Regions from separate parts of the Homo sapiens genome. Here all the other regions are linked to region 1. The links are contacts of gene promoters, found by promoter capture Hi-C in blood cells and fetal thymus (Javierre and others, 2016). All regions are on one chromosome and are shown on one strand. Each heading gives the region's core, a stretch centred on a gene start or on the middle of the fragment in contact. The rest is flanking DNA. Distances are from core to core; before and after follow the strand shown. Region 1 holds the start of OLFM2 (olfactomedin 2). Region 2 holds the start of PDE4A (phosphodiesterase 4A). Region 3 overlaps CDC37 (cell division cycle 37, HSP90 cochaperone). Region 4 has its middle 4.4 kb from the start of MRPL4. Region 5 holds the start of S1PR2 (sphingosine-1-phosphate receptor 2). Region 6 holds the start of DNMT1 (DNA methyltransferase 1).

Region 1 (4,339 bases), core at 1,171-3,670:
CCACATCCCATGATGAGTGTCCTCAACCCAGTGCATGGTTGGTTATTGCAAGGCGTGCTGGGGAGTGAGTGCTAGCTAGGTGCTCTCTTTGCTTAGAGTCACAGATGTCTCCCAATAACTGCAAAAAACAGGTCTTCTAAGAGGGGGAAAGCTTTTTCCCTAAGGTCACATGGCCAAGAAGTGGCAGCACCAGGGTTGAACCCAGATCTGTGGGTCACCAAGCTCTTTCTCATTGACCTGACAAAACCATCATCGACATGTTTTATCCCCAGTAGGGTTGAGACAGGAATGATCCAGGGTGGTCACAGGCAGCCGTTTCACATGACTAGAGGCTATGGGCTGATAAGATCCTGAAAACCAGGGTGTGGACCAAGCTGGCTAAGACCTACTGGACCCAACATGGCGTTACATTCTACCTAGGTTTCACCTAGGATCTCATTATGTACTCATTAAAATACTAAAATTACCCACCCACCAGCGCCCTTGACAATTCCAGGGACACCCAAATTTGGTGTAAAAGTGGGTGGCACCACAGTCCACCTTTTTCCAGTTTTCATGAATATTCCATCCCTTGGTTAAAGAGATACACAGTGGCCTGTTGTGGTGGCTCACGCCTGTAATCTCAGCACTTTGGGAGGCCAAGGCGGGTGGATCACGAGGTCAGGAGTTTGAGACCAGGCTGGCCAATATGGTGAAACCCTGTCTCTACTAAAAACACAAAAAATTAGCCGGCTGTGATGGCGCACACCTGTAATCCCAGCTACTCAGGAGGCTGAGGCAGGAGAATTGCTTGAACCTGGGAGGCAGAGGTTGCAGTGAGCCGAGATCACACCACTGCACTCCAGCCTGGGTGACAGAGCGAGACTTTGTCTCAAAAAAAAAAAAAAAAAAAAAAAAAAAGAGACACATAAAGGTAGCAGTCCCAAACCACCTTGCCCATCTCTCTCTCTTAAGTACGCCCACTCCCTTTTCTCAAGTGTGGACTTTTCCCTTAACAAAAAAATCTCCGAACTTTTCATGATTTTCTGATTCCTCCTTGAATTCATTCTTGCGATGGTGTTAAGAGCCTGGACACCAGCTGGGGTCGAGGCCCCACCAGCGTCTGGGGAGACCCCTCCTAGCCCAACAGTATCAGGGTCACAAAAATGCCAGGCTTCCTGGCCTCGCATATTTTATGCCCGATTTCTTTCCAATCTGACTTATTTGCCCGCCCCCCTCCTCCACCTCTGCCTACATATATCCGAATCCCTAGAGGGGCTGTGGGGAGGAAAGACGACTAGGGACACTTTTTTTTTTTTTTTTTTTTTGAGACAAGGTTTGCTCCTGTTGCCCAGGCTGGAGTGCAATGGCACGATCTCTGCTCACTGCAACCTCTGCCTCCCGGGTTCAAGCGATTCTCCTGTCTCAGCCTCCCGAGTAGCTGGGATTCCAGGCATGCACCACCACGCCCGGCTAATTTTTGTATGTTTTAGTAGAGGTGGGGTTTTGCCATGTTGGCCAGGCTGGTCTTGAACTCCTGACCTCAGATGATCCACCCTCCTCAGCCTCCCAAATTGCTGGAATTACAGGCGTGAGCCACCGCGCCCGGCCTAGGGAGACTTTTGGAGGAGTGAGAGGCAGAGAAAGGCTGGAAAGCCTCCCGAAAGTGAGGCTAGACAAGGACGCCCTTCATATGCAAATGGCTTCGCGTGGAGGCGGTGTTAATATTTTGATTCTCTCGGGGGATGTGGTCTTTCATCTTGGGCTATTGAAACAGGGAGCGAAGAGAAACTCTTCCAGGTGTGGCGGAGGCGGGGAGGCTTCCAGCGGGAGGACTGGTGGGGAAATGGGGCGCCCGGGGAGAGTGAAAACGAGACGCCCCTTTTTGAGGCCAAGCCCACCCACGTGGCCATTTCCATTGGCCTCTTGCCTGATTCTCGGTCTCCTGTCCCCCCAACCTCAATTTTTTCCTCTTATTCCCCGTCTCCATCTATGCCTCACCCCTCTTGTCCTGGCATTGACCCCTCCTCCAACTTCCAATTTCAGATTCTGCCTCAGTTTCCCTGTTGACTCTTGAGTTTTTAGGGAGGGGGCGTTCATCATTTCCCCTCTCTGCTACCAGGCCTTCCTCCTATTCCTCTCCCCCAACCATTCGTCCCCGTCCCACCTGCAACGTGGGAAATGCCCCCGGAGGGTGAAATTTACAAACACGTGACGGGCACCCCTCCCCCACCTCCGCGACCCGCTCCCGGAATGGCCTGGGGGTTGGGGGGCGCTGCCAAGTCCTGTCCTCAGGTCCCCTCGCCGGCGCTGGCTCCCCCACTTCCCCGCCCCCACCCCCCCACCCGACCCTGCTCGAGCTGCTCCCGAAGAGGAGCTGGGGGCGGGGCGGGGGGCGGAGCCCGCAACAAAGACTCGGAGCGAGCGAGGGGGCGGGGGTGGGGCGGAATCCCGGCCGCCGGCGAGGCGGGGGAGGCGGCGGCGCAGGGTCGCCCCGGCCGGGCGGGCGGGGTCGCGCCTGGTGGCGGTCCCCGCGCCGAGGCGCCGCTAGGGCGGGCGGGGGTCGGGACGCCGGGCTAGGGGCGCGTCATGTGGCCGCTCACGGTCCCGCCGCCGCTGCTGCTGCTGCTGTGCTCAGGCCTGGCCGGACAGGTAGGGGCCCGGCGGGCAGGTGCGGGCGCGGGTGGCTCCGGGAGAGGAGGGGGGCGCGGAGGGTTCCCGGAGAAACGGGGTTGGGAGGCTCCACAAGCCCCCCCAGCTGCAGGGCGGCGAGGGGCGGGGGTCGCAGCGGGGGAGGGGCCGGGACGTGCACTCTCTGGCTTGGGAGAGGACGAGGGGGGCTTCAAATCCAGCCTCAAGCTGGGCTGGTTTGGGGGGTGGCGTCTTTGGGGTTCTCAACCCCTCCATGGCCCCGAGCCCCCACCCCGCCATCTCGCTGGAGCTGAATGGGGTTGGGAGGGAAACTTCAGGGGGCATTGGAGGGGGGCGGTTGCTTACCCTTGACTTCCTCTTCGGGGCCGAGATGCCCAGTTTCTGAAGCCCTCCACTCCTCGCCTGCAGCCCCCAGTGTGGGGCAGGGGACGGGACTCACGTGAGAGTGACTGACGGGGACGCGTGTGAAATGCTGTGGGGGTGCAGGGTAAACGTGTGTGTCTTTGTGTCGTGGTTGGGTGTGACCGGGGGGAGTTTGTGTGTGTGGCGGTTGGGGGGCTTGTCCAACTAGTGCCCGAGTTGGGGTGTGATCAGTACGTGAGACAGAGTCTGTGTGTGACCGTGTCCTCATTACTGGCTCCAGATGACTGGGTGTTGTACAATACGTGTGTGGCCAGGTGTGTGGCCGTGTGAGAGCCTTGGAGTGAGCGTGTGCTATTCTGTACCTTTGGGTAAATCACTCTAAAAGGGTGTGTGTGTGTGCAAGCGCTGTGTGTGCAAACGTGTCCATCCATGCACGTGTGTGTGTGTATCTTGGTGCCTTGCTCACAACCGCACACGCCATTCATACCCTTACAGAAGCGGGTCTCCCTCCCCATGGCACCTTTCTCTTGGGCAGGCTCAGGGAGGCTTGCAAAATGTGGGGCGTCCACGCTCTCTTTTGCTATTGGAAAGCCCCTCTCCTCCTCCATCTTGGGAGTGAGAGCACCCCCAAGTTCTCAGATCTGTAGGAGTTCACAGGGAAGCTGGGATCAAAAATAATAAAATAGTCATTATGATAACAGTGATCATTCATTACGTGCTAATTTGAGAGGTGCTGTTTCAATCACACAGCACAGACTAAGGCATTTAACCCCCTCTGCCTCCTCCCTACTAGAGCATGGTATTGTTACCTCATTTTATGGATGGGGAAACTGAGGCGCAGAAAAGTTAAATCACTTGCTCAAGCTCGAGAGTGACAGAGGTGGGACTGAACCGAGGCAGTCCGGCTCCTGAGCCCACACGATTACCCTCTTGTTAAATAATCCGCTCCATGGGTGTGGACAGCGTCCGTGAAGACATTGCTAGGTGGGCTTTTAGGTAGATAGGCAGGGGAGAAACAATTTGGGCACCTTCCCCTTATCAAGAAAAGAATCAGACCCTTGTGCTCACCCCGAGGGGGGTGTTGGGAGGAATGGAGGTTAGACTCCAGATAGAAGGATTTCCAGGCCACGAGGAGAGATTGTGGGGTCCCCTCCCTCGCTCCTCCATTTCCCCACGCATCTCAGCACCCACGCGCTGGGTGGGATAGGGAGTGTGCCCAGCCCCAGGCATGAGGACACACACAATAGGTACTCAATGGATGTGTGAGCCTGAGAGAAGCCAAGAGACACACCTGGGAGACGAGAGACCAAAAGAGGCACACACTTGAGAAACCAGTGGAAAAAAA
Region 2 (4,339 bases), core at 856-3,355, 480 kb before region 1:
TGCTGAAGACCCCCAAAGAGACTTAGGAAGAGTAGGGCTACATCTTAGAGAGGCCTCACTCAGGAGCTCCAGGGATAAGGAGCCCAAATCTGACCGTCTTGGTGATATCCCCAGCAGTGGGGCATCCAGGTAGAGCACACGGGCAAAGCTGTCAGTTGCACACATCGCTGGAGCACAAGCAATCAGACCCTGGAGCACCATCAGAGGAGGAACAATAACTAAGAACACCAGGTGGTTAGAGGACACCAGTTCTTAGGATACACCAGGCAGAGGGAACACAGACCACATGTCAGAGCACCGACGCTCAGACGTGAGCACCTGGTGAAGACTAACACACAGCCACTGTGTTTCAATCACAGTGTCCAAGGAGCACAGACTGTTCCACGAACTCAATCACATTGTTCCCCAAGTGTAAACACCCCAGTGCCACAATCACTGCATGCCAGAAATGACACTGTCACAATCACATTGTCCCTAGACCACCAACACCATTGCACAATCACTGTCCTAGGAGCAGAAACAGTCACTCTATCCCAATCACTGCATCCCATGAGGCCACAGTCACCCTGTGACAGTCACAGCATTCTTGGAGCACACACAGTCACTGTCGCAAACCCTGTCCCAGAAACACACAGTCACACTACCCTGGAAATACACAGTCACACTGTCACAATTACACTGTCCCTGGAGGACACAGAGTCATCGTGTCACCATCACAAGACCCCAGAAGCTCACACAGAGCACACAACTGAGGTAGCCACAGCTGGTCATACCCGGACAGCTGGAGCAAACGGAGGTCAATCGGAGAATACCCTCAGAGGAGACCAAGCTCAACACACATGCACCCTCACTATGCTGTCACCTCTGCAGTCAGGGACTCCTTCCCTCTGTGCTGGGACTGCGCCCCCCCTCCACTGTTTCCTGCCTCTGAACAGCTACTTAACGCTAACACTCTTGCCCTGAGAGGGGAACTCCAATCTAACGCAAGGCTCCCAAAACAGTGCTCCCCCAAGAGGCACCCTCTGGATTTCTGACCCCAGCTGCTGCAGGAGGAGTCCACTAACATCCCCGCAATAGAGTCCTCCATCCCCTAGAAGGACCCTGAGAGCACCCCACCCTGAAGTAAAGATCCTGGTCCTAGCAGGCACCCCCTTATGGAGTGCTCCAAGAGTACCCCAAACACTGCGAATCTAGCCCTCAGTATAGTGCCCCCAGGAAGGTCCCTCCAAGTGGTTCCCAGCTTAGCAGCTGTTCTGCACTGTCACCAAGAATACAGACCCCTAAGTGTGCAGCCCCCTTCCCCAACCCAGACCTCGTTAACACCACGCGCAGCGTGGCGCCCCCTAAATGGACCCCAGGATGGGCTTCAGCAGGAAGCCTCCCGTAGAGCGCACAACCAGGGGCCAGGTCCCAGACGCCCCCGCAGCCGAATTCCCTCCGCCCCCGCCAGCCAAACCGACCCCACCCGCATCCTAGCGCCCCCTGCGGCCGGCAGCTCGAGTTGCCTCCTCCCTGCGCGCCCATCCGTTCCGCGCGCATCCGCCGCGGGGAGTCTTACCGCCTGCTGCTGCCTCCGCCCGCGCCGCCGCTGCCGGTGCCAGTGCCATGGAAGGACGAGGGCCAGGACATGCGGGTCGTGCGCAGGCCGGGCCGGTCGCTGGTGTCCATGGCATCGGCGCGCTCTATGGGCCGGTGCGGCTGCCGCTCCCGCTCGGCGCGCTCCGCGCTGTCGGAGTAGCCGCGCTGCTGGATACGGATGGGGGTCCGAGGCTGCCGCCACAGGTGCTGCGGGGGAGGCTTCAGGGTGGCCTGGCCCTCCCGGGGCCCGGGCAGTGACAGAGACAGGCTCCTTTCCGAGGGGACGGTCGGGGGTTCCATGGCGCCGGCCCCCACTTGCGCCCCAGGGGGCCCTGGCCCTTCCAACCTACACCCCGCTCAGCTGCGCGCAAGCCAGCGAGCCCAGGGCCCCGCGGGTGCGCCCGGCCGCGGTAGGGCCATGGCGCCCCGGGGACAGACCCGGGGGCGCTGCGGGCCAATCGCCCCCGGGCCGGGCTCTGCAGCTTCCTTTCGGCGCCTGGAGCTCTGCTCAGTGCCCGGCGGCGCTCTCCGCGCTCCGCGCTCCGCGTTCCGCGGCCCGCTCGGCGCCAGCCCCGGCTCCTCCGCCCCGTCCCGCCCCTCCCCGCCCCCCGCCCGCCGCGGCTGTCAGCGCCGCCCCCCTCCTCCTCCGTCCGGGCCAGCGGGGGGCAGCTACCTAAGGAGGGGGGCCCTTCCCGCCCACGCAGATCCCCGCTCCGGGCTGGGAGGGGGCGCTGGAACTCGTCTGTCTTCAAAGCACCCTGCTTGGCCGCGGCGCGCACAGGCACGAAGGAGTTAAACGGTTAATCCGATCTGGAAGCAGACACCGGACTGGTTGCCAGAGTGTCAGTCAGTCGGTCCATCATGGCGAGGGCGGAGTCCGGTGTTGGCGTGTCCTCGCCGCTACCCCTGGCGGGGGGCAGTTTTTGAGGAGTGGTCCTAGTGCCACCGGCGCGGTACCTGCAGCGGGCGGCGGCAGAGTGTGTGGGATCTCCTGTCTGTGCGTCGGAGGATAGTGATGGTGCGGGCCCGGGGCGGGATGTGCGCGCACGTGGCCTCTTCCGAGGGTTGTCTGTGTTTTCAGTGTCGGCTGGAAGTGTGTGTGCGCACGTGGTTGGCTGCTGTTGTCTGCCCGTTTCTCTGGATTTGGCTGTGTGTATAACTGTGTGTGTCTGTGGGTGAAGGATGTGTGCGCACATGTGCTACCTATTTGGAGGATGTGCATCCCTACGTGGTCTTTTTTCAGGTGGCCTGGGGACTGTGAATGTGTTCTCAAGCGCTTGGATGCGTTTGTGGTCGGTGTGTGCTTGCGGAGTTGTGCACGCGATTCGGCCTCTGTCGTCTGACTGTAGTGTCGGAGGACGTCTATGTATGTTAGTGTGTGCGTGTGCGTGAGTGTATGTGTGTGGTCGGCCTGGGGCCTCTGGGGTGTTTCTGGGGTGTGTCCCATTGGTTCCCTTGTGGCTCCAGGAAGACACCCTGTGGCGGATACCGCAGCTGCCGGCCCACCGCTCTATACATCGCTGCCTCTTCTAAAGCGCTTCTGCCAGAGGTAAACTGAGGAAGGTCCCAGGTAGCCGCGGAGCGCACCCCCGTGCCCTTTTCAGGCGAGTAAACAGGCGAGCCTCCTCCCTGCGGCCCCCGCCAGCAGAGCCCCCCTTCCGGCACCTAAATCGGGAGTCGCCGTGACTCACGCTCCCGCCTCCCCCAGCGCCGCGCCGAGCGAGCAAGCAGAGAGCGAGCGGGATCCGAGTGCGCCCCCATCCCCCTCAACCCCCCCAAGGATGGCTGCTGGGCGGGGGGAGTGCACGCGCCCGCGTGTCCCACCGCCCCCCCCCCCCACGCCGATAAGAGCTCGAACGCGAAACTGCTCTGCTGCGGGACCCGGGGACCAGACCCCTGCCCCCGTGCGCCCCCTGTCACGGGCTCCCCAGGGCACGCGATGCCGTTTGCCACCGCCCTCCCCCCGCGCCCTTCTCCTTATTTGAAAAAAAAAAAAAAAAAAAAAAAAGACTGCCGGTCTTCAACCCCCACAGCCACTTTTCTCCCCGCCAGAGGGGGCTCCCGGCGTGGGCGAACGCCGAGCAAAAACCGGCCCCCCCATCAGCAGCCGCCGGGTATTCCAAGGGCCAAAACTGTGTTCCCCACTTCTCTCAGGAACACCCCCCCCATTACACACTCAAAACGGCTTCTAGGGAATTTGCAGGGGCTGTGAGTTCTCCCCAGATCATATTTGAGAGTCCTGGGCTGGGCCAAATTCTTGGCGGGGTATGCTGTAACGTTGGTTAGAGATCTGGAAGCGGGTGGGAGTGCGTAATGTGAGGTGGGTGGGGGTGTCAGGACACAGCTGGGGTTGCAGAAGAAGGAGGAAACGAGGAGCGGTGGCCTGAGCTGGGGGATAAACTGATCTGGACCTGAGGCTAGTGGGATGGGCGTGGAGAGGTATAATTAAGCAGCTCCAGGGGCGAGAGACAGTCACTTGCTCTCCCTATCTGGAAATGAACCATTGGACCATGACGGAAACAGAGACCCTGGAACCCTCCAATTGAGTAGATGGGGGTGGGGGTGGATTGGAACTGCCGAAAGCGGTGACCAGAGGAGGGCATGGGGGCAGGGGCCGGCCAGAAGCCAGGACCAGCTCAGCTGTCTGACTTTCCAGCTCATTCTTGAGCCAAGAGGGGGGTTGAGTACTCTGGGAAACTGGTTGGGTACCTGGAAGGTCCCCAGATGAGAATCAGCAGGAGGTGCTGTGTGAACCCAGAGC
Region 3 (4,339 bases), core at 1,306-3,805, 460 kb before region 1:
CTGCCTCGGGTTCAAGCGATTCTGCCTCAGCCTCTGGAGTAGCTGGGATTGCAGGCGCCTGCCACCACGCCTGGCTAATTTTTGTGTTCTTAGGAGAGACGGGGTTTCACCATGTTGGCCAGGCTGGTTTCAAACTCCTGACCTCAGGTGATCCACCCGCTTCGGCCTCCCAAAGTGTTGGGATTACAGGAGTGAGCCACCACGCTCGACCACGTAGGCCTTCTTGACCCCTTATACATATAGGGGAATCCGAGGCTCAGGCTGGCTGTGTCAGTCCCCTGGGGTATTAGAGTAGGGGCCAGCTCTGCCTGGCCCTGCCTTAGAACCTGGGGACACAGCCTCAGATAAGGCACAGGAATGAGTCAGCAGACCATTCAGGTGGCAGTGACAAGGACGGAGATGGTAACAGTGGGACACACCTACTGAGGGCTGTTTTGGAAGCATTTTCCATAGAGTTAGTCATTCAGTTCTCACGGCGATCCTGTGAGACTCCATTTCACAGAGGGGAAGACCAAGGCTGGGAAAGGTTTCAGTGACATGGCCAAAGTTCCATCTCCCGTCAGTGGCACAGCCGGGTGCTGTGACCATGTAGTAACAACCACTCCCAGTTATTGAGCGTGTACTCTGGGCCAGAAATTAAACTAAGCATTTGAAGGACATTTCCTTTTTGAGGCCCCAGAGTGGTCCCCAGAGAGAGAGAGAGATTGTTCTCTTGCACAGATGGTAATGACCCTGGCCAGTACAGGAAGGGTGCGTGCTGAGGGCCCACATGGCTCGGGACATTTTACTCTAATCATCTCCTTAGTTTCTTCCAATATGAGCTTGTGCAGTCAGCATTGTTGACTGTTTGACAGATGAGGAAACTGAGGTTACAGGAGGTTAGGGGATGGCCCGGGATACCCAGCCGGTACATGGTGGCTGTGGGCTAGGACCCAGGGGCCGTTGCCCCAAGGCTGTCCTCCAGCACCCTCACCACATCGTCAGATGGTCACAGGAGGTCCTTTAGGGATCAGTGGTGCCTCAGGCAGGGAGCATTTGGGGAAGGCTCTGTTGAAGCTGAGTTTTGGGTGCAAAAGCAGGTAAGGGAACCGCACATGCAGAGGCCAAGAGGCAAGACAGAGCCCGTACTTTCGGGGAACGATGAGGGCCAGTATCTGCCTGGGACCCAGGACCAGGATGCCAGGATCAGAAGTCCCATCTGAATTCAGACCCCCCAAGATGTAGTGGGGAGGACTCTGGTCACGTGGTCAAATGCATGGGCTTCACAGGCCTCCCTGGTGGCAGCTGTGCCTGGATTGGAGAGGGTCAGCAATTGAAGGTGGTGGCACGTTTCAGGGTTTCAGGGTTTGATTAGTGGCTCTGGATAGAGCAGCCTCCACTGAGGTTCAGGAGAGGTGATGGTGGAGCCACGCAGGGGTCTCAGGAGAGGCCTGTACAATCCGATGGGGCCCAGATGGAGGTCTGAGGGAGACAGGGAGTGAGGCGGGGACCAGGAGCCTGAGGAGATGAGGCACTGTTATAAGGAGAAAGAGGAGTGCCTGGGGAGTGACATCTGGGGCTGGGGTGAGCGGGAAGCAGGTAGACACCAAGCTGGGGCTCAGGAGGGCATGCTGGGCTGGAGACAGAGCTAAGAGGGCCTTGGCAGTGATCCTGGGGCAAGGTTATGGGTGGAACAAAGAAACATCTAGAAGGGGCCCTGGTGCAGTGGCTCATGCCTGTAATCCCAGCACTTTGGGAGGCCAAGGTGGGTGGATCACTTGAGGTCAGGAGTTCAAGACCAGCCAACATGGAGAAACCCCGTCTCTATTAAAAATACAAAATTACCCAGGCGTGGTGGCGCGTGCCTGTAATCCCAGCTACTAAGGAGGCTGAGGCAGGAAAATTGCTTGAACACGGGAGGCAGAGGTTGCAGTGAGCCAAGATCACGCCACTGCACTCCAGCCTGGGCGACTCCGTCTCAAAAAAAAAAAAAAAAAAAAAAAGCCAGGCTTGGTGGTTTGTGTGCACCTGTAGTCCCAGCTACTTGGGGTTGAGGCAGGTTGAGCCTGGGAGATCAAGGCTGCAGTGAGCCATTATCACACCACTGCACTCTAGTCTGCATGACAACAAGACCTTGTTCAAACAAAACTGAACAAAATAAAAACAAAAAAAAAAACAAGCATTTGCTGAGCCCGTGCTTTGCACCAGGCCACGTTCCTGGTTCTGGGAACAAAATGGCGAACACGTTCCCATATTTAGAGAGCAGGGCTTCATTCATTGGAGGGGGGCAGTACCCAAAACGTGATAAATAATTGTCATATGATGTTAGTGGTTGCTGATGTTGAGGAGGCAGGGAATTCCAGACAGGGGCAGCGGGAAGTTGCCATCATCAGGAAGGTGGTTGGGGAAGGGGTCCTCGCTAAGGCAACATGGAGCCCAGATGGCACGGGTGCCATGGAGTCAGCTGTGGGGGGCTCTGAAGGAAAAGCATTCCAAGTAGTTGGAACAGCCAGTGCGAAGGCCTTGAGGTTCAAGAAAAAAGTGGGCTCCGCAGAGTGCAGTAGCTCCCGCCTGTAGTCCCAGCACTTTGGGAGGCCGAGAGGGAAGGATCGCTTGAACCCAGGACTTCAAGACCAGCCTGGGCAACATGGCAAACCCCATCTTTACTGAAAATACAAAAATTAGCTGGGCGTGCTGGTGCACACCTGTAGTCCCAGCTACTTGGGAGACTGAGGTGGGAGGATCGCCTGAGCCCAGGGAGGTCGAGGCTGCAGTATGTCATCATTGGGCCACTGCACTCTGACCTGGACGACAGAGTGAGACCCTGTTTTTTGTTTTGTTTTGTTTTGTTTTCTTAAACAAAAAAAATGGCCTCAAGAAAAGGTGAGAAAAGTGAGGGGCTGGTGTAGCTGGAAGGAAGAGTTACCAGGGGAGGTGCCGAGGCAGATTGTGTAGGGCCCATGTAGGCTGTGGTGACAACTTGGGTTCTGCTGTGAGATGGGAGCCGCCAGGGTTCTGAGCAGAGGACGGAGGGACCTGACCCCACTTGGGTGTGCGCTGGCACCTGTGGGCGCAGGGGCGGAAGCTGGGAGACCAGGGCACGGGAGGTGGACGCGTACTTTTTCCTGGGGCCATCTCCGGTGCAGGGATTGGGTATGGGGCGGGGGTAAGGGACAGACGACTCCCCAGAGTTGATAGGCCGTCCCTGCCCGCAGGCCCGGGTGGAACGCATGGAGCAGTTCCAGAAGGAGAAGGAGGAACTGGACAGGGGCTGCCGCGAGTGCAAGCGCAAGGTGGCCGAGTGCCAGAGGAAACTGAAGGAGCTGGAGGTGGCCGAGGGCGGCAAGGCAGAGCTGGAGCGCCTGCAGGCCGAGGCACAGCAGCTGCGCAAGGAGGAGCGGAGCTGGGAGCAGAAGCTGGAGGAGATGCGCAAGAAGGAGAAGAGCATGCCCTGGAACGTGGACACGCTCAGCAAAGACGGCTTCAGCAAGGTGTGCGGGGCGGGCGGGGCGGGCAGTGCGCATGCGCAGCCAGAGAGCCTGCAACCAGGACGCATGCGCACCCAATGCCTGGTCAGGGGAGGACCCCGGTGGTGTAGTTGAAGAGTGTGGTGGGGGGCGGGGAGCTGAGGGATGGACGGGGGCCACGTGGGAGGGGGGACAGGCTTGGGGGGCCGGGCGGATGAAACACCCCACCGGTCCCCTCCTCTGATCTGCCCCAAGGCCCATGCCCACGCTCCCGCCACCTTGATGCTCATGGCTTCGTCACCACCTCCGCCGTGGATGGGATGGGCGCTGCGACCACGGCCCGCCCGGCCGCGCTCGAGGCGCTCCGCAGCCTTGCCCCAGCCCACTCCCCCTCTCACCCTACCACAGAGCATGGTAAATACCAAGCCCGAGAAGACGGAGGAGGACTCAGAGGAGGTGAGGGAGCAGAAACACAAGACCTTCGTGGAAAAATACGAGAAACAGATCAAGCACTTTGGTGAGTGGGGCTTGTGGGTTATGGGGGGCAAGGTCGAGGCAGGCCCTTTGCCTCCAGGGCCCTCCAGCACCTTGCCAGCATCTTCCCACAGGCATGCTTCGCCGCTGGGATGACAGCCAAAAGTACCTGTCAGACAACGTCCACCTGGTGTGCGAGGAGACAGCCAATTACCTGGTCATTTGGTGCATTGACCTAGAGGTGGAGGAGGTGAGTGGAGCTTTCCCCGGGACTGTGAAAAGGCGCTGCCATGAGGCCGCCACTTGGTGACGCTGTGCCTGTTCTTCCTGGCAGAAATGTGCACTCATGGAGCAGGTGGCCCACCAGACAATCGTCATGCAATTTATCCTGGAGCTGGCCAAGAGCCTAAAGGTGGACC
Region 4 (4,339 bases), core at 1,222-3,721, 310 kb before region 1:
GCTGGGATTACAGGCGCCCGCCACTACGCCCAGCTAATTTTTATTTTTATTTTTTATTTTTAGTAGAGACAGGGTTTCACCATTTTGGCCAGGCTGGTCTCGAACTCCCGACCTCAGGTGATCCACCCGACTCGGCCTCCCAAAGTGCTGGGATTACAGGCGTGAGCCACCGCGCCTGGCCTCTACCAAAAATTTAAAAATTAGCTAGGTGTGATGGTATATGCCTGTGGTCCCAGCTAATGGGGAGGCTAAGGCAGAAGGATCACCTGAACCCAAGAGATTGAGGCTGCAGTGAGCCATGTTCATGCCACTGTACTCCAGCCTGGGTGACAGACTAAGATCCTGTCTCAAAAAAAAAAAAAAAAAAATGTGGCCGGGTGCGGTGGCTCACGCCTGTAATCCCAGCACTTTGGGAGGCCAAGGTGGGCGAATCACGAGTCAGGAGTTCGAGACCAGCCTGGCCAACATGGTGAAACCTTATCTCTACTAAAAATACAAAAAAATTAGCTGGGCGTAGTGGCGGGCACCTGTAATCCCAGCTACTCGGGAGGCTGACGCAGGAGAATCGCTTCAACCCAGGAGGCAGAGGTTGCAGTGAGCCGAGATCCCGCACCGCACTCCAGCCCATGCGACGAGTGAGACTCTGTCTCAAAAAAAAAAAAAAAAAAGAAAGAAAGAAAACAAAAAGTATAGTGTATTTCATTGTGTATTTTATCCCTGCAAGAATAACTGAATGCGGCCGGGCGTGGTGGCTCATGCCTATAATCCTAGCACTTTGGGAGTCCGAGGCGGGTGGATCACCTGAGGTCAGGGGTTCGAAACCATCCTGGCCAATATGCCAAAACCCCATCTTTACTAAAAATACAAAATTAGCCGAGCATGGTGGCGCATGCCTGTAATTCCAGCTACTTGGAAGGCTGAGGCAGAATTCCTTTAACTTGGGAGGCGGAGGTTGCAGTGAGCTGATACCGCACCATTGCACTCCAGCCTGGGCAACAAGAGTGAAACTCCGTTTCTAAATAAATAAATAAATAACTGTGGATGCATGTTTAAGACTCTATGTATTTTGCAACTTTAAAAGGTCTTTTAATCGTTTATTTTGTTGCTGTTGTTTTTGAGACAGGATCTCACCCTGTTACCAGTCTGTAGTGCAGTGTAACGATTATAGTTCACTGTAGTCTTGAATTCCTGGCCTCAGATGATCCTCTGCTGCAGCCACCTAAGTAGCTGAGGCCACAGGCATGTTCCACCATGCCCAGCAATTTTTTTTTTTTTTTTTTTTTTTTGTAGAGGCAGAGGTCTTGCTTTGTTGTCCAGGCTGGTCTTGAACTCCTGTTCTCAAGTGATGCTCCCTACCTGACTAATGTTTGTATTTTTCGTAGAGACAAGGTTTCACCATGTTGGTCAGGCTGGCCTCGGACTCCTGACCTCATGTGATCCACCCGCCTCAGCCTCCCAAAGTGCTGGGATTATAGGCGTGAGCCACTGCGCCTGGCCTATTGTATATTTTCATTGGTCATTCATACACCTGGTAGAGAGAATTTCAAAAATTACAAAGATTACTAGAGTGAAAATTCTGTCTACTCTTATCTGTGCCCCCTACCCCCCAGTTCTTCTCCCAGAAGCCACCACTACAATCAGCCTCCTGTGTGTCTACTCCAAAATCCGGTGTATGATTTTACAGGCAGATTTGCAAGTCTGTTCTGCACCAGAGAGTTTAGATTTTATGTGGCAAATGATGGAACAGTATTTCGTTTCTTTCTTTTTTCTTGTTTCATAGAGACAGGGTCTCGCCGTGTTGCCCAGGCAGATCTCAAACTTCTGGGCTCAAGCGATCTGCCCGCCTTGGCCTCCCAAAGTGCTGCGATTATGGGTGTGAGTCACCTCGCCTGGCTTTTTTTTTTTTTTTTTTTTTTTTGAGACGGAGTCTCGCTCTGTCGCCCAGGCTGGAGTGCAGTGGCGTGATCTTGGCTCACTGCAAGCTCCGCCTCCCAGGTTCACGCCATTCTCCCACCTCAGCCTCCTGAGTAGCTGGGACTACAGGTGCCCGCCACCACGCCTGGCTAATTTTTGTATTTTTAGTAGAGACGGTTTCACCATGTTAGCCAGGATGGTCTCAAACTCCTGACCTTGTGATTCCACCCCTCATCCCCCACAACAGATCTGTATCATCCATCCATGCCCTGTGCCTTTTGTTTTTTTTTTTTTTTTTTGAGACACAGTCTCATTCTGTCACCCAGGCTAGAATGCAGTGGTGCGATCCCGGCTCACTGTAACCTCCTCCACCTCCTGGGTTCAAGTAATTCTCCTGCCTCAACCTCCTGAGTAGCTGGGATTACAGGCAGACACCACCACGCCCAGCTAATTTTTGTATTTTTAGTAGAGATGGGGTTTTGCCATATTGGCCAGGCTGGTCTCGAACTCCTGACCTCAAATGATCCGCCTGCCTCAGCCTCCCAAAGTGCTGGGATTACAGGCGTGAGCCACCACACTAGGCCGCCTGGCTTAGTTTCTTAGTGATTTATTAGGCACCTACTGTGCACCACTGGTACACCAGTAAATCCAGCAAACACTTTTGAAATATTCACAGTCCAATGCAGAGGCCTGAAGGATCAGAGTTCAGGAGGGGAGTCTACAGGGTCTGTGGGCGTCCACAGGAGGAATTCCCAACCACGGGGGCAGGGTCTTGGGGTGGTCTTATGAAGCTGTAGCCTGAGAGCTAAGGCTTGAGGACTTTGTCCAGAGGAGAAAGTCTGTTTCAGGTTGAGAGAACAGCAGTCGCAGAGGCCAGGAGTGAGGAAAGACTGACAGGGGGCAGAGGTGGCTGAACCTTTCGGACTACCCACTGCATGCTTCCTTTGTTTTTGTTGTTGTTGTTTGAGACAGGGTCTCACTCTGTCACCCAGGCTGGAGTGCAGTGGTGTGATTTCAGCTCACTGAAACCTCTGTGCTGGTGTGCGACTGTAGTCCCAGCTTCTCAGGAGGCTAAGATGGGAGGATCACTTGAACCCGGGAGGCGGAGGTTGCAGTGAGCTGAGATTGCGCCACTGCACTCCAGCCCAGGTGACAGATCGAGACTTTGTCTCAAAAAAATAAAAAAGCAAATCTTCACCTCTGACCTTTCTGACCCTCTTCTCTTGCCCTATATTAATATTTATCTTCTTTTTTTTGAGACAGTGTTCCACTCTGCCACCCAGGCTGGAGTGCAATGTCGAGATCTTGGTTCACTGCAACCTCTGTCTCTGGGGCTCAAGTGATCCTCCCACCTTGGTCTTTTGAGTAGCTGGGACTACACGTGTGTGCTACCACACCTGGCTATTTAAAAATATATATATATTTGTAGACACGAGGTCTCACCACATTGCCCAGGCTAGTCTTAGACTCCTCGGCTCCAGCAGTTCTCCTGCCTTAGCCTCCCAAAGTGCTGGGATTACAGATGTTAGCCACCACATCTGGCCTAATGGTTATCTTCTTCTTCTTCTTTTTTTTTTTTTTTTGAGACAGAGTTTTGCTCTTGTTGCCCAGGCTAGAGTGCAATGGCACAGTCTCAGCTTACTGCAACCTCCATCTCCCAGGTTCAAGCGATTCTCCTGCCTTAGCCTCCCAAGTAGCTGGGATTACAGGCGCCTGCCACCACACTCGGCTAATTTTTTTGTATTTTGAATAGAGATGGGGTTTCACCATGTTGGCCAGGCTGGTCTCAAACTCCTGACCTTGTGATCTGCCCACCTCGGCCTCCCAAAGTGCTGGGATTACAGGCGTGAGCCACTGCACCTGGCTAAAAATGCTTTTTGTCTGCCTCTCCCATTAGAATGTAAACTCACCCAAGGCTGGAATTTTCCTCTATCCTATTACCTGCTGTAGCTTCAGCACTCAGCATAGTGTCTGGACCACAGTACATGCTCAATAAATGTTTCTTTAGTTCTTTTGTTTTTCTTTTTAGAGACAGAGTCTCACTCTGTCACTTAGGCTGGAGTGCAGTGGCATGATCATAGTTCACTGCAGCCTGCAACTCCCGGGCTCAAGTAATCCTCCTGCCTCAGCCTCCCGAGTAGCTGGGACCACAGGCATGCACCACCACACCCAGCTAATAAATGTTTCCTGAGTGAATTCCTTTGTTCATCCTGTTGCAGGGGTATTGCTAACAACAGAGGACTTTCTCCCTATGTCCCTGGGTCTCAAATCTCTGTCCACCTGAGGTCACTGGGCACGTAAGGTGCCCATACATGATTATTCATTCAGTAACACTGGTTTGAATCCAGGCACTGCCACTAATTGGCTGGATGGCCTTGGGCAAGTGGGAGCTGTGGCCTCCTAATCTGTAAGTGAAATACACACA
Region 5 (4,339 bases), core at 736-3,235, 290 kb before region 1:
TGTTGCCCAGGCTAATCTAGAACTCCTAGGGTCAAGCAATCCACCCACCTTGGCTTCCCAAACTGTTGGGATTACAGTCGTGAGCCACCGTGCCTGGCCAGATTATGTTTATAACATATAATGTCTACATTTTCACAAATGGTACCCTCATAAAAAGCCATATTTCCCACCTGAACATAAGATCCACTGGGTTGGCCAGGCACGGTTGTTCATGCCTGTAATCCCAGCACTTTGGGAGGCCAAGGCGGGCAGATCATGAGGTCAGGAGATCGAAACCATCCTGGCCAACATGGTGAAACCTCCATCTCTACTAAAACTACAAAAATTAGCTGGGCATGGTGGCGCATGCCTGTAATCCCAGCTACTCAGGAGGCTGAGGCAGAAGAATCGCTTGAACCCGGGAGGCAGAGGTTGCAGTGAGCCGAGATAGTGCCACTACATTCCAGCCTGGCGACAGAGCTAGACTCTGTCTCAAAAAAAAAAAAAAATCCATCTGGTCAAGGAGTTTTTCCTTTTTGTTGCTGTTGTTGTTGTTCACTGCTGTGCCCAGTAGGTGCATAAAAAATATTTGTTGCCAGGTGCTGTGGTTTACATTTGTAATCCCAGCACTTGGGGAGGCCGAGGCAGGCGGATCACTTGAGGTCACGAGTTCGAGACCAGCCTGGCCAACATGGTGAAACCCTGTCTTTACTAAAAATACAAAAAAATCAGCCAGGCGTGGTGGCACGCGCCTGTATTTCCAGCTACTTGTGAAGCTGAGGCACAGGAATAGCTTGAACCTGGGAGGCAGAGGTTGCAGTGAGCTGAGATGGCACCACTGCACCCCAGCCTGGGAGATAAAGGAAGACTCTGTCTCAAACAAAAAAATTTTGTTGCTGGAATGAGGGGCTTTCCTATCCTGTTGTCGAACTGCTGGTTACACACACACACACACACACACACACACACACACACACACACATCATTCGATGAAGGTGTAGTGTCCATCATTTCCGCAGGCAGGCACACAGAAATGCCCAGGAATTAGTGAAAATTGGAAATCTGGATAGAAGACTGGGCCCGACGCTGGAAGGCAGGCACAAACTGGGCCCCGCCAGAGGGGACAGTGATCTACAGAGGCAGGAAAGAGTGTGGAGTGTCCCCAGTCCCCCAAGGGAAACAGGGCAGCACCTGAATTCTGGAGGTCCTATCAAGGGAGAGACTGGTCAGGCACAGTGGCTCACGCCTGTCATTCCAGCACTTTGGGAGGCTGAGGCAGTAGGATTGCTTGAATGCAGCAGTTCAAGACCAGCCTGGGCAACACAGCGAGACCCCATCTCTACAAAAAACTGCAAAAAATTAGCCAGGCATGATGGCGCACCTGTAGTCCCAGCTACTCTGGAGGCTGAGGCAGGAGGCTGAGGCTCCCGTGAGCTATGATTGAGCCACCACACTCTGGCCTGGATGACAGAGCAAGACCATGTCTCAAAAAAAGAAAAAAAAAAAGAGATCAATTTTGTCTTTGGGACAGGACATCGCACTTAGTAGGAATTTATTTGTTGGGTGGACACACAGTAGGCACTTAATGCCTATTTGCTGCGTTGACACCTAGTAGGTACTTCCAAGGCTCTTTGTTGAGTCAATAAATGTGACCTCGTGTTTTCTTCCAAGTCCAGGGTCCCAGGGGTAAGCCCAGAGGTAACCTGGGGTTGAAGACAGTTGTTTCAGGTTGAGGCCACCTGGCCAGGAGTACTGTGACGTCACCAGGCTGCGTGACGTTTCGCGCCGGCCGGTTCTCACGGGTGGGGGCTGGGAGGGGCAGAGTGAGAGATCGGGTGGGGGGGGCGGACAAAGGGCCCTCCGTGCAGCTCCTGTCGGCCCCCGCGTGCGCCCCGGCCAGCCGGCCGGTCACATCTGGAATTCATTGCAGCCGCCGCCGGAAAGGGGAGGAGAGGAGGGCGGGGCGAGCGGGGGGCAGAGGCGGCGGCTCTCCGCCCCCCCCTCTGTCCCTCGTCCCAGCCCCGGGACTTAGCCGAGCCCGGCTGGCAACCCCAGCCCCAGCCGCGGCCGCCCTGGGGACGCAGACGCCAAGGCCCCTCCGGCCAGGGCCGGGAGCCGGGCCGGCCTAGCCAGGTGAGCGCGCGTGGCGACAAGGAGGCAGAAAAGGCGGGCCTGGTCCCCTGAGGTCTCGGGATCCGAGCTGAGGGGCCCCAATCGGGGGGCTGGGGCGCGCACGCGCCGCCTGGGTTCCTGCTGCACGGAGCGGGTGGTCACAGTGCGCCCTCTCCAAGAATCCGGGCGGCCCCCACTGCCTCGGCCGCGAACCCGCAGACTGTGCTCCCCGCCTTTCTCAGCGGCAGGAAGTTGGCGCCGGGGAGAAGGCTGAATCCGAGCGCTTTCGACTGGAGTCTTTGGGAGGCAGGACGCCGTGCTCGGGGACCGGGGTCTTGGGGAGTGTGTTTGGGGGGGGGCAACACCCCTCCTGGCTGACTCCGGCTGAGCGAGGGCAAAAGGATGTGCGCGCCGTGGAGCCTCCAAGCCAAGGGGCGGCACCCACGGGGAGGGCGGTCGGACGTCGGGCTTTCTGCCTCGGTTTCCCCAAGTTGTTTGCCTCCTCCGGTCCCCCGGCGGGGGGCGTGGCTTTGTTTTGTAAGGAAAGAGAAAGTGACTGCGTGGCTCAGACGCCTCCTCTTTCAACTCCGGCTCAGGGATGGGTCGTGGGTGAAGGCGCGCGTGGCGCGGACCTCGCGTGGCCCCGAGCCGGGCGGAGCGTCGGAACTCGCCCCCTTCTCAGGCACGGGTTGACTCACCCGGGGATTTCCACCCCCTCCTCTGTCTCTGTCCTTGTCAGATGCTCCGGGCCCCACGCGCTGAGCCCACAGTCCCCCTCGTGGGGCGACACGGCCAGGCGCGGAACTCGCGGTGCAGCTGCTGCTGCGATCTGGTCCCCCACCCCCAGTCTTCCCAGAATCTCGAGGCGGGACCCCTGGCGGGACGGAGAGGAATCCTTCCAGTGCCGCTTGGAGACGTGGGGGCCCCGCGCGTGTGGCGGTCTCGGGGGCGGGGGGGAGAGGAGGCGTGGCTCCCGCGCGAGCGAGCGTGGATACCGCGCATTCCTAAACCAGATAAGGAGGCCGAGAGTGCGGGCCAGCACGGGGTCGGGTCCTGCTGCCATCTCCATGGAGACACGCTGGGCTTTGCCTGGTTGATGGTGGGCGATGGGGGCGCTGCCCGCGGACCAGAGGTGTCTCCAGGCTCCTTTGTTGCTGTTTGGGTCTGGGCTGAGCTTAGGAGTTTCCACCCTTGGGAACCCACTAGGGTCTCCTTTGTTCATTGGTTCATTCATTCATTCATTCATTTGCCCATTCCACACGTTTTCTGAGTGTTTTATTTGTGCCAGGCATCCCTGTAGGGGCTGATAACTGACTTGCTCCCTGGCCTTAGGCATTGACTGTCTAGGTGGAAGCCAGACAGAAAAGGAAAGATATCATGATAGTTTCCCATAGTGGCAAGCGCTGTGCAGATAATAAAACGAGATTCTGTGATTAGAAAAGGCTTGGAGATGGCTGCTATTGTAGACTGGGGGTCAGGGGAGTCCCCTCTGAGGAAGTGACCTTTAAATAGAAAGGTCACTTTCTATAAGGTAGGGTGGCTACCACGGGCTCCATGGGTGACCAGGGGGAACTGTAACCACAGGGCCTGCCTTTCTGAAAGATGGGGAGACAGTCATTCAAAGATTTGAGGAAAGGCCAGGCGTGGTGGCTCACGCCTGTAATCCCAGCACTTTCCTAGGCTTAGGCAGGTGAATCACCTGAAGTCAGGAGTTCCAGACCAGCCTGGCCAACATGGTGAAACCCCATCTCTACTAAAAATACAAAAATTAGCCAGGTGTGGTGGTAGGCACCTATAATCCCAGCTACTCAGGAGGCTGAGGCAGGAGAATCGCTTGAACTCAGGAGGCAGAGGTTGTGGTGAGCCGAGATCACACCACTGCACTCTAGCCTGGGCAACAGAGTGAGACTCTGTCTCAAAAAAAAAAAATTTTTTTTTTGAGAAAAAGAGTGTGCCCCAAGAAGAACAGCAGGGGTAAAGGCTTGGAGGTAGGGGTAGGGGTAGCATGGAGGAGGTTTAGTGTGGTTGGAGTGGAATGGCCCTGGGGGAAGAGTGGGAGGAGGCTTCATCGGCAGGGGCCATCCTACTTGGGCTATAGGGAGCCATGGAAGAATTTGGAGTTGGGGAGTGACATGGAGTTACAAGTTTAAAAGCTCCCCCTGGCTGCTTGGTAGAGAATGGCAGGGTAGGGGGTCCTGACAACCACAGAGAAACCAAAAGGTAGGGTGGCTACCACGGGCTCCATGGG
Region 6 (4,339 bases), core at 759-3,258, 260 kb before region 1:
TTTTGGTAGAGACGAGGTTTTGCCATGTTGCTCAGGCTGGTCTAAAACTACCGGGCTCAAGTGATCTGCCTACCCGGGCCTCCCAAAGTGCAGGGATCACAAGCATGAACCACCATGCCTGGCTGTAATTTTTCATATATTCCGGATATTAACCCTTTACCAGATAATACAGTTTGCAAACTTTTTTTTTCCCCATTCTGTAGGTTGCCTTTTCACTGTTGGTCATTTCTTTTGCTGTATAGCTATCCTTAAGTTTGTTGCAAACCCATTTGTCTATCTTTTGTCTTGTTGCCTGTGTTTTGCTGTCATATCCAAGAAATCATTGCCAAATCCATTGTCATGAAGCTTTTCCCCATGTTTTCTTCTAGGAGCACTATAGTTTCAGGTCTTATGTTTAATCTTTAATAAGTTTTGTGTTTTTGTATATGGTGTAAGGTAAGGGTCCAACTTCATTCTTTTGTATGTGGTTATACAGTTTTCTCAGCACCATTTGTTAAAGACACAATCTTTCCCCCATGTTCTGGTGCTTTAAAAAAAAAAAAAATTCTGGCTGGTTACGGTGGCTTAGGCCTATAATCCCAGCACTTTGGGAGGCTGAGGCAAGTGGACTGCTTGAGGCTAGGAGTCCCAGACTAGCCTGGCCAACATGGTGAAACCCTGTCTCTACCACCGAAGATACAAAAATTAGCCAGGCGTGGTGGAGTACGCCTGTAATCCCAGCCTACTAGGGAGGCTGAGGCATGAGAATCGCTTGAACCTGGGAGGCAGAGGTTGCAGTGAGCCAAGATCTCACCACTGCACGCCAGCCGGGGTGACAGAGTGAGGCAGGGTCTTACCCTGTCGCCCAGGCAGGAGTCCAGTGGCCCAATCATGGCTCATTGCAGCCTACACTGCCAGGGTTCAAGCCATCCTCCCACCTCAGCCTCCCAAGTAGCTAGGATTACAGGTGTGTGTCACCATGCCCAGCAAATCTTTGTATTTTTTGTAGAGATGGGGTATCCCTATGTTGCTCAGGCTGGTCTTGAACTCCTAACCTCAAGCGATCCTCCCACCTGGGCCTCTCAAAGCACTGGGATTACAGGCGTGAGCCACTGCGCCTGACATGGTGCTTCTTAATTTATTCTTACTTTTTATTTTTATTTTTTTGAGACAAGGTCTTGCTCTGTCTCCCAGGCTGGAATGTAGTGGTACAATCATGGCTCACTGCAACCTCTGCCTCTCCGGTTCAAGTGATCTTCCTGCCTCAACCTCTGGAGTAGTTTGGACTATGGGCACATGCCACAACGACTAGCTAATTTTTGTTTTTCTTTTTTTCTTTCTTTCTTTCTTTCTTTTTTTTTTTTTTTGAGATGCAGTTTCTCTATGTTACCTAGGCTGGTCTAAAACTCCTGGGCTCAAGCGATCCTCCCACCCTGGCCTCCCAAAGTGCTGGGATGACAGGCGTGAGCCACGTGGTGCTTAAAAAAGGCAACAAAAAACCCCCCACACACTGGGTATAGAAGTGGCATGGGCCTCTATACACTGTGAGATTCTTGGTACTAGCTACAAATTCTGTGTATACTCAAGATTTTCTAGAGTAGGTGCAATTACCCCGTTTTACAGATGAGGACACAGAGGCTGAGCCGTAGTGACCCACCTAAGGTCGTATAGCCAGCAAATAGATGGAGGTTGGATTGGAACTGAGGACTTTACTCAAGGGCTCTCACAAACCCTTGGGGGCTTCTCGCTGCTTTATCCCCATCACACCTGAAAGAATGAATGAATGAATGCCTCGGGCACCGTGCCCACCTCCCAGCAAACCGTGGAGCTTGGACGAGCCCACTGCTCCGCGTGGGGGGGGTGTGTGCCCGCCTTGCGCATGCGTGTTCCCTGGGCATGGCCGGCTCCGTTCCATCCTTCTGCACAGGGTATCGCCTCTCTCCGTTTGGTACATCCCCTCCTCCCCCACGCCCGGACTGGGGTGGTAGACGCCGCCTCCGCTCATCGCCCCTCCCCATCGGTTTCCGCGCGAAAAGCCGGGGCGCCTGCGCTGCCGCCGCCGCGTCTGCTGAAGCCTCCGAGATGCCGGCGCGTACCGCCCCAGCCCGGGTGCCCACACTGGCCGTCCCGGCCATCTCGCTGCCCGACGATGTCCGCAGGCGGTAGGTACCATGGGGGGGAACACGGACTCAGGGGGACAGGCAGGGCGCTGGGTGGGGGGTCGCTTCCCCTCGGGGTGGCCGGTGGCCGCTGCTGACAGACGGGCGCGCATGCGTGGGGTGGTGCGGCGCGCAGCGGCAGTTGGCGCGGGCAGGGTGGCACTTCCGGTCGCGCGTGCCCGGGCTGTTTGGCGCCAAAATGGACCGTGGATTCCCCCGTAGCTCCCTGGTGGCTAGAAACTAGGCGGGGTGGGGGTTCTCTTTTGATCCCCAAATACAGCAAGCTTTGGGTTCGTTTCCGGGGTCCCCTTCTTCAAGCAGCGGTGGGCCGGGCTCTTGACTCCAGCTTGGTCGCACAGGAAGTGGGCAGCCCGCGGCCAACGGACACCCCTCGGGCACCGGCACTTCGGCCTCCACTTCCGGTGTCCGGCCCGGTCCCCGGGGGCGCTTCTGTGGTGGGGGGTCCCTCAGTGCCTTTCCCCCAAAGCTGTGCATCTCGATGGCGGCCTCCAGAGACGGATGTCACCCGTCGGGGCCTGGGCTGGGCTGGCTCATGTTCGAGAGCCCAGCCTTCCGTGGGGTACTCATTCTGTCAGTTGGGACTGTGTGGTTCTTGCTCCTTGGGAAAGTCCATGTTTTGGCAGGAACTTTAACCGTGCATTGCAGCGCAGGGCCCGGGAAGCGTGAAGGCTGCATGGTTGGTCTTTTCCTGTAAATCTGTGCCTGTGAGCCGTGGGCATCAGGGAAGTCTTGCTAATGAGAACTGGCTACACTTTCGTGTGTGTTTGTGTGTGTTCATGGGTGTGTTCTTTAGTGTGTGTCTAATGTTGGAGGCCCTGGCTTTAGCAGTTCATGCCTCTGTCCAACTTCCGTGCACAAGGATCAGTGGGAGCACTGGTCCCAGCCCCTTGTTCATGAACGCCATCAGTTCATTCCTGAAAACTTGTTCAAGTGAGGTGTGCGTGAGTCAGAGGAACCCTCACCAGGCGTGGACACTTCCAGCTGGATTTGTGAAAGCACTCTTTGCCATTTTTCTATTTCCTTAGGCTTGTTAACTGACCTGGTTGGGCCAGTCCGGTTCTGATTTGGGTCTTTGGGGAGGGATGGATATTTGGTTCAACCCCCGCTTTTTTTCTTTTCTTTTTTTTTTTTTTTTTGAAGGCTGGGTGCTGTGGCTTATGCCTGTAATCCCAGCAATTTGGGAGGCAGTGGCGGACGAATCTCTTGAGCCAGGAGTTTGAGACCAGCCTGGGCAACAAGGCAAAACCCCATGTCTACTAAAAATACAAAAATTAGCCTGGAGTAGTGCCGTGCGCCTGTGGTCCCAACTACTCAACAGACTAAGGTGGGAGTATCACTTGAGCCCCAGAGGTTGAGGCTGTGTGTAGCGAGCTGAGATCGCGCTATTGCACTCCAGCCTGGGTGACAGAGTGAGACCCTGTCTCAAAAAAAGAAACACTTTTTATTTTTAGAGATGGGTCTCACTCTGTTGTCCAGGCTGGAGTGCCCTGGCACAATTATAACTCACTGTAGCCTTGAACTCCTGGGCTTAAGGGATCCTCAGCCTCCTGAGTAGCTGGGACCACAGGCGCCCACCACCATGCCCAGATGACTTTCTTAGTTTTTGTTTCTGTATACGTGAGGTTTCACCATATTGCCCAGGCTGGTCTTAAACCCCTGCCCTCAAGCAGTCCTCCTGCCTTTGTGTCCCAAAGGTTAGGATTACAAGTATGAGCCATCATGCCTTAACTACTACTTTTTTTTGTTTGTTTGTTTGAGATGGAGTCTCATTCTTTCACCCAGGCTGGAATGCGGTGGCGTGATCTCGGCTCACTGCAACCTCCACTTTCAGGGTTCAAGTGATTCTCCTGCCTCAGCCTCCGAAGTAGCTGGGATTACAGGTGCACACCACCACGCCTGGCTAATTTTTGTGTTTTCAGTGGAGTCGGGGTTTCTCCATGTTGGTCAGGCTGGTCTCGAACTCCTGACCTCGTGATCCACCTGCCTCAGCCTCCCAAAGTGCTGGGATTATAGTCAAACCACTTCTTAACCAGTTAGTGGGTATATATCTTCTTGAATCATCTGTGCCAGTATTCTCCCAAAATAAAACTTGATTTAAAATGGAATGGAAGTGAAATTATGAAAGTGCCTGGCTTCATGATGTTACACCCAATTCAGAGAAGTTTGGGCCCGGCCTTCCT

What was found. Contacts are between HindIII fragments. The CHiCAGO score rates a contact against its expected background, and 5 or more counts as called.
Region 2: the fragment with the promoter of PDE4A here is called in contact with the fragment with the promoter of OLFM2 in region 1 in 3 of 17 cell types (naive CD4 T cells, total CD4 T cells and naive CD8 T cells); the score reaches 7.0 in naive CD4 T cells.
Region 3: a fragment that was not itself captured here is called in contact with the fragment with the promoter of OLFM2 in region 1 in 7 of 17 cell types (non-activated CD4 T cells, naive CD8 T cells, naive CD4 T cells and 4 more); the score reaches 9.8 in non-activated CD4 T cells.
Region 4: a fragment that was not itself captured here is called in contact with the fragment with the promoter of OLFM2 in region 1 in 8 of 17 cell types (total B cells, naive CD8 T cells, naive CD4 T cells and 5 more); the score reaches 9.5 in total B cells.
Region 5: the fragment with the promoter of S1PR2 here is called in contact with the fragment with the promoter of OLFM2 in region 1 in 5 of 17 cell types (naive B cells, naive CD8 T cells, total CD8 T cells and 2 more); the score reaches 8.1 in naive B cells.
Region 6: the fragment with the promoter of DNMT1 here is called in contact with the fragment with the promoter of OLFM2 in region 1 in 7 of 17 cell types (total B cells, naive CD8 T cells, total CD8 T cells and 4 more); the score reaches 8.6 in total B cells.

The regions. Positions count from the first base shown.
Region 1 is chr19:9,934,596-9,938,934 of GRCh38, reverse strand. OLFM2 (olfactomedin 2) reads left to right here and starts at 2,420. Exons shown (of 6, transcript NM_058164.4): 1 at 2,420-2,631. The coding sequence starts at 2,569. RefSeq lists enhancers at 1,401-1,903, 2,570-3,164. The HindIII fragment of the contact is 5,720 bases long and covers 154-4,339 here.
Region 2 is chr19:10,418,304-10,422,642 of GRCh38, reverse strand. It overlaps PDE4A (phosphodiesterase 4A), which reads right to left and starts at 2,105. Exons shown (of 15, transcript NM_001111307.2): 1 at 1,559-2,105. The coding sequence starts at 1,878. RefSeq lists enhancers at 1,063-1,252, 2,433-3,312, 4,306-4,339 and silencers at 1,463-1,512, 1,743-2,212. The HindIII fragment of the contact is 23,098 bases long and covers 1-4,339 here.
Region 3 is chr19:10,395,059-10,399,397 of GRCh38, reverse strand. It overlaps CDC37 (cell division cycle 37, HSP90 cochaperone), which reads left to right. Exons shown (of 8, transcript NM_007065.4): 2 at 3,195-3,470; 3 at 3,855-3,963; 4 at 4,055-4,170; 5 at 4,255-4,339. Among named protein-coding and RNA genes, the nearest start is that of MIR1181, 6.3 kb to the left of the region's middle. The HindIII fragment of the contact is 8,904 bases long and covers 1-4,339 here.
Region 4 is chr19:10,245,611-10,249,949 of GRCh38, reverse strand. No RefSeq gene overlaps it. Among named protein-coding and RNA genes, the nearest start is that of MRPL4, 4.4 kb to the left of the region's middle. The HindIII fragment of the contact is 5,281 bases long and covers 1-4,339 here.
Region 5 is chr19:10,228,977-10,233,315 of GRCh38, reverse strand. It overlaps S1PR2 (sphingosine-1-phosphate receptor 2), which reads left to right and starts at 1,985. Exons shown (of 2, transcript NM_004230.4): 1 at 1,985-2,112. It overlaps MIR4322 (microRNA 4322), which reads right to left and starts at 2,903; the gene lies at 2,831-2,903. RefSeq lists enhancers at 1,431-1,480, 2,627-3,341, 3,281-3,360, 3,441-3,490 and silencers at 1,681-2,340, 3,051-3,100. The HindIII fragment of the contact is 29,719 bases long and covers 1-4,339 here.
Region 6 is chr19:10,192,622-10,196,960 of GRCh38, reverse strand. It overlaps DNMT1 (DNA methyltransferase 1), which reads left to right and starts at 2,008. Exons shown (of 41, transcript NM_001130823.3): 1 at 2,008-2,141. The coding sequence starts at 2,062. RefSeq lists an enhancer at 1,575-1,804 and a silencer at 2,065-2,304. The HindIII fragment of the contact is 2,077 bases long and covers 348-2,424 here.